Linked DNA regions of Homo sapiens: region 1 is linked to region 2. The links are contacts of gene promoters, found by promoter capture Hi-C in blood cells and fetal thymus (Javierre and others, 2016). All regions are on one chromosome and are shown on one strand. The core of a region is centred on a gene start or on the middle of the fragment in contact, and the rest is flanking DNA. Distances in the headings are between cores, read along the strand shown.

The links. Contacts are between HindIII fragments. The CHiCAGO score rates a contact against its expected background, and 5 or more counts as called.
Region 1: a contact is called between the fragment with the promoter of FGFBP3 here and the fragment with the promoter of RPP30 in region 2, in 10 of 17 cell types (activated CD4 T cells, fetal thymus, naive CD8 T cells and 7 more). The highest score is 14.0, in activated CD4 T cells.

What each region holds. Positions count from the first base shown.
Region 1 is chr10:91,908,077-91,910,776 of GRCh38, forward strand. It overlaps FGFBP3 (fibroblast growth factor binding protein 3), which reads right to left and starts at 1,410. Exons shown (of 2, transcript NM_152429.5): 1 at 1,322-1,410; 2 at 1-971. The coding sequence starts at 893. The coding sequence ends at 117. It overlaps FGFBP3-AS1 (FGFBP3 antisense RNA 1), which reads left to right and starts at 53. Exons shown (of 2, transcript NR_199602.1): 1 at 53-173; 2 at 821-1,272. RefSeq lists a silencer at 283-852 and an enhancer at 756-1,050. The HindIII fragment of the contact is 14,773 bases long and covers 1-2,700 here.
Region 2 is chr10:90,870,612-90,873,311 of GRCh38, forward strand. It overlaps RPP30 (ribonuclease P/MRP subunit p30), which reads left to right and starts at 1,363. Exons shown (of 11, transcript NM_006413.5): 1 at 1,363-1,457. The coding sequence starts at 1,376. RefSeq lists enhancers at 1,201-1,495, 1,214-1,483, 1,614-1,673. The HindIII fragment of the contact is 10,238 bases long and covers 1-1,774 here.

The DNA of each region.
Region 1 (2,700 bases), core at 160-2,659, 1.0 Mb after region 2:
TTCGAGAACCTGGACTTCTCCCCAATCTCTATCACAGTACCCCCCGGTCTAAGACGCCCTTAGCTTTCCCTTCCCCACGCCTCCCCCATCAACCCTCCCTAAGCCGGCAGGCAGTCTCAGCCGTTCCAGAAATTGACAAAGAAGTTGCAGAGGGAGTGCCACTTCTCAGCGCAGTAGGTCTCCGTGAGCTCCGCGTTCCCGTCCAGCCCGTCGGGGTCGGGCCCGGTCCCCATGGGTCGCTCCTCGTTGGGGACCAAGGCCGCCTTCCTCTTGCCCTCGTTGGTCTTCCTCTCTGAGGGGTTTTCTTTGGGCGGTGCGCTTTGGGGAGGCGGGGTCCCAGCGGCTGGGCCGGACGCACGCTCCCGGGTCCGCCCCCGGTTCCGGGCCCGGGGCTTGGACTCCCCCGCGAATCCCGCGACGGTGGGGCGTGCGGGCGGGGACGCGCGGGGCACTAGCCGCAGCTCGGCGCCGTGGCCCTTCTTGCCCGCGCACAAGCGGGCCTGGAGCGGCGCGGGGTCGTGACAGGGCCTCCGCTTCTTGCGCAGCCCTCCCAGCACCTGCTTCCAGAAGTGCGCGCGGCGAGCGGCGTAGGCTGCGCAGCGCTCCGGATGCCCGCGGTAGGCGCACTGGTGGCGCGCCCCGTCCGGGCTCTGGCAGCGCAGCGCCAGCTCGCTGCCCGCTGCGGCCTCCGGGGCGGGCAGCAGGAGCTGCCAGCTGCACGCGTGCTGCTCGGGGCTGAGGAAGCGACCCGAGGAGCCGCCAGTGGGCCCGGGGACCGGCTCCGCCACGTTGCTAGCCGCCCCTTTCTCCCTCCGAGCAGCCGCGAGGAGGCAACCACTCAGCAGCAGCAGCAGCGACGGCGACAGCGACGCTCGCAGCTTCGGAGGAGTCATGCTCCGCGGTTTCCGCGCTCCGCTGTTCTCAGACCACGTTTGTCGGGGCTGGACCAGGCAAAGAGCATTCCCCAGGACCTGCGGACAGAGGCAGAGACTGCCACCAACTGAGCCACACGCAGCGCTTCGCCCAGACACATGCACCTGCGAACTACTCTTCCGCAGACTTTCTAGAATCTGCAGCCTGCGAGGAGACCCTCTGAGGAGCTTTCCTGGGGAAACTGCTTACTGTCTAAATAATCACTTTCGAACCATGTATGCATTGAGATTTTCTTCCCCTTGCAAATACGATAGCAAAACGATGCGTGATAATTGCCCCCTCTACCCCTTCCTTCATTTTCTCCCTTCTCCAACCTGCAATAAACTATCTACAAAATCATTTCAGATGATTCCTTGGAAACATGCACTTTACTACACTTTGAACTTACCGAGTTCTGGGAGAGGCGCCAAAGCCTTATTAGGGTAGAGGGAACGACTGCACGGGGGAGTAGTCTGTTTTAGCCGGCTCCCTGTGAATGAACGTGGTATCAATGGAACAGAAGAGGCCTACCCTTCTTCGCCCCTCCCCGATTTCTCTCACACTGGGAGACTTATCACCGCCGCGCTTCTCTCTCTCTCTCCCTCTCTCTCTCTGTCTCTCCAGATGGATGATGGAAGCGGTCCTGTAGTATGAAATACAAATCTTGTATTTTGCTTCCAATGTTTAAAATAATCAGGCAAAATTAACCAAGTTTTTCTTCTTTCATGTACTTAACCATCCAAAAAATAAAAATTAAACAAAAGATCTAAGTTTTAAAAGTTAAATAAAATGAAACAAAACAAACTTCAGTATTCTAAACTAGGCATTTTTTACACAATTATATCATTTACATTCTATTTCTCATATTCTGAGTTCTACATTTTTACCTATTATTTCCAATAGCCTTTCTTAAGACTCTCAATCTTAATAATTGTTACTACTAATAAAAATATAATATCCTAGTTTATTAACATACAATAGTGCCCAGCAGTTCACCCAGGAGTGGACATTTGGGCTTTTTATTATTTTTAGGTATTAGAAATCAGTTATAAGGGTCCTCCAAAAATTAGAAGTTTAAAAAAATTATTTGTATTATAGTAGTTGAACGGTAAGATTACCAATTGAAATGGTATAATAGTTAAGAATGTGAGACCAGCCTGGCCTGGTGAAATCCCGTCTCTACTAAAAATACAAAAATTAGCCAGGCGTGGTGGCAGATGCCTGTAATCCCAGCTACTCAGGAGGCTGAGGCAGGAGAATCACTTGAACCCGGGACAGGGCGAGACTGCCTCTCAAAAAAAAAAAAAAAGAGAGAGAGAATGAATGTGTTCTTGAATCTTGAAAATGTTACATTTAAGCAAAGCTGCTTTTTCTGGAGGGGGGGATTGTGTGTGTGTGCGGGGGTTTGTTTGTTTGTTTGTTTGTTTGTTTGTTTTGAGACGGGAGCTCACTCTGTCACCCAGGCTGGAGCGCAGTGGTGCTATCTCGGCTCACTGCAACCTCTGCCTTCCCGGTTCAAGCGATTCACCTGCCTCAGCCTCCCCAGTAGCTGGAATTACAGGTGCCTGCCACAACACCCAGCTAATTTTTAGTGGAGAAGGGGTTTCACCATGTTGCCCAGTCTGGTATCGAACTCCTGACCTGAGATGAGCCACCTGCCTCAGCCTCTCAAAGTGCTGACCAAGCAAAGCTGTTTTTTCTTTCTTTTTTTTTTTTTTTGCTCTTTTTAAAATTTTTATTTAGAAGCCTACTTGTAGAAGTTAGCATAATTTTACAGATTATTAGAAA
Region 2 (2,700 bases), core at 113-2,612:
CGCATAAAGGAGTACTAGTTAAGGTGTGGTCCATAGACGAGAGACTATCTGTGAACTGTTTGTGATCAGTAAATAAGAGAAATTGATGGGTGAAGCATGTGGGTGGGCTCCTGTAATCACAGCTAGGAGAGAGGATTGCTTGCGTTAGAGTCCATCCTGGTCAATAACGAGATACTCTCTCTAAAAACAAAACAAAACGAAACGAAAACTCAGCAGGCCACCAACTAGGATACTCCCTAGGTCAAATGACCGAGCCTCTAATTCTGTGATTGTTGTTGCTGTGCGCACGTTAATAAAACAAACAAACAAACAAAAAGTGAAGATGTTTAGAAAGTTTACAGTACTTTGGCATTGTCCTGATAATCCAAGCTCCTGATCAGCAGATTCTATTCAGCCAGGTATAGGGCAGTTCGAGTGTTGTCAAATTTGTGATTCCCATGAGGCCAGGCTGCTTACTGGTAATGCATAAAGGACCACATCCTGGTTCGCGAAGAGTTTGGGGGTAGAGGAAAAGGAGGGAGAAACTGATCCTTCATCACAGGTAGTTTGAGAGCACTGATGTAAACTATAGTCACACTTTTGTAGTATAATTGATTATTATCCTCAATAGATCATTTACACTAAGTCGGAAAAAAGTGGAAACATCAGATATGTGGGATATGCGTCACCTTGTACATTTCTCAGCTGGAAAAGTGTAAAACATCTCAATTTTGCACCTCCCTTTTCAAACATGTCTTTGGCTAAATCAATGTTGGCTCTAACCGCTCGTCCTAGAGCGAGTCCCGCCATCTTGTGGTTGAAGATGTTGACTGCCACAGAGAATAGCGGGCTTTGACATCAACAGTTCTGATTGGGTAAAAAGACCCTCGTCTTGGGGTAGTTCTCTTTTGAAGTCCTAGAGTCCGTCACACACAAACGCCTTCTTCCCGGTAAGTCCATTGTAAACAACGGAATGGACTTTAGGGAAAGGAAAGGAAAACGTGTTCTTTAAGACTCTTTAAATAGCGTTTTCACCCATTAGCAGAATTCTCTGATTCATGAGCAGCACTAAGTAGATACCGTGTGCGTGCATTTTGAATGAATTCATTTCTACACTATTTTATAGGAGTATTGAATAGTTGGGAATTGGAACCCCTCCAGGGGGAACCAAACATTGTCGTTCAGAAGAAGACAAAGAGAGATTGAAATGAAGCTGTTGATTTCAACACACAAATTCTGGTGGTAGATGAAAGCAAAGCAAGTAAGTTTCTCCGAATCCCTAGTCAACTGGAGGTAGAGACGGACTGCGCAGGTTAACTACAGCTCCCAGCATGCCTGAGGGGCGGGCTCAGCGGCTGCGCAGACTGGCGCGCGCGGACGGTCATGGGACTTCAGCATGGCGGTGTTTGCAGATTTGGACCTGCGAGCGGGTTCTGACCTGAAGGCTCTGCGCGGACTTGTGGAGACAGCCGCTCACCGTGAGTTGCCCCGGCTTCGCGCCTGGCCAACCTCATGCCACCCAGACCATCGGGCCACACTCCGGAGTAACTATTTCCTGATGGGTCTCGGTCAGGTCTCCCAGAGTCTCTGGGATGTCCCTGGAGGCTGATGCCCGCCGAGGTGTTGGTCTGATTCCTAGCGCGGGAAACTCGAAGGTTCTGGGGGTTGTTATCTGGTTCAGCTACTTTCCTGCAATGAGGGAACTGAGGCCTAACGAGGGCGAGGGATTTGCATAGGGGCCTACAGCTGATAGGTGACAGAAGCCGGAGCTGGACTCCAAGGGTACAATCTTCTAAGCTTCTAAGTTACTATCAGCCCTTCCTGATTCTCACGACAGTGTCTAAACAAATACTGGAATTTGGGGCACGGACAGGAAGCGCCGTGGAGGCTCGGAGAAGGAGGAGGACGTGGGAGTGTTGGAACAATACTATCTAGACAGAGAGAGGGTAGGTGGGGGCAGAGGACATACACAGCGGAGTGGAGGTGGAGGAGGAGGATAGCATGGCCCAAATCGAAGGGAAGCGAAAGCCTTGAGAGACGAGAACCTGTTTTAACTATTGGAGTTAGTCATGGGTTCTGTATTCCGTAGACTGTAAAGTGTTGGAATAGAGAGATTAAAAAGAATCAAGAGGTTCGTGTAGTAACATCTGCTCCTCAGAGACAGTTTTCAGCTCATTGTGAGTTCTGATTACTGATACTGTTCAGAGGTGGTGCTAGAAATGACAACCACTTCTTGGCAAAGTGAATCACACCACTTTTTTATTGTTCTCTTTATGAAGTATCCGTGGCGAAATGACTGTCCCTTTCCACTGCTGCCACTAAATGAACGTTATCTCTGTGGTACTTTGCTCATCAGCACGAAGACGAAAGTAGACATGATGATCTGGGCCATTTGGCGCTAATGTTCTTTGATCCTGTAAAATAAGTTTTCCTAGGTGTAGTTTGTCGCAATTATTACCTCCTCAATGAGGCTTTTCCTGACGCCATCCCATTTTTGAATAAATCATGAGCTTCCTAAGAGAATTGCCATGTCTTATCCTTTTATTTACTGTGCTTAACACGTTCACTCTGCAGGCACCAGTACATGGCAGTTACTCAGTTAATGCTTGTGGAATAAACTGAACACATTAAAAAAATTAATACAAAAAAGAAAAGTTAATAATGATTTCTTTAGAGAATTTCCCCCAGTTTAAAATACACTTGGAAGAGGTGTGGTAATAT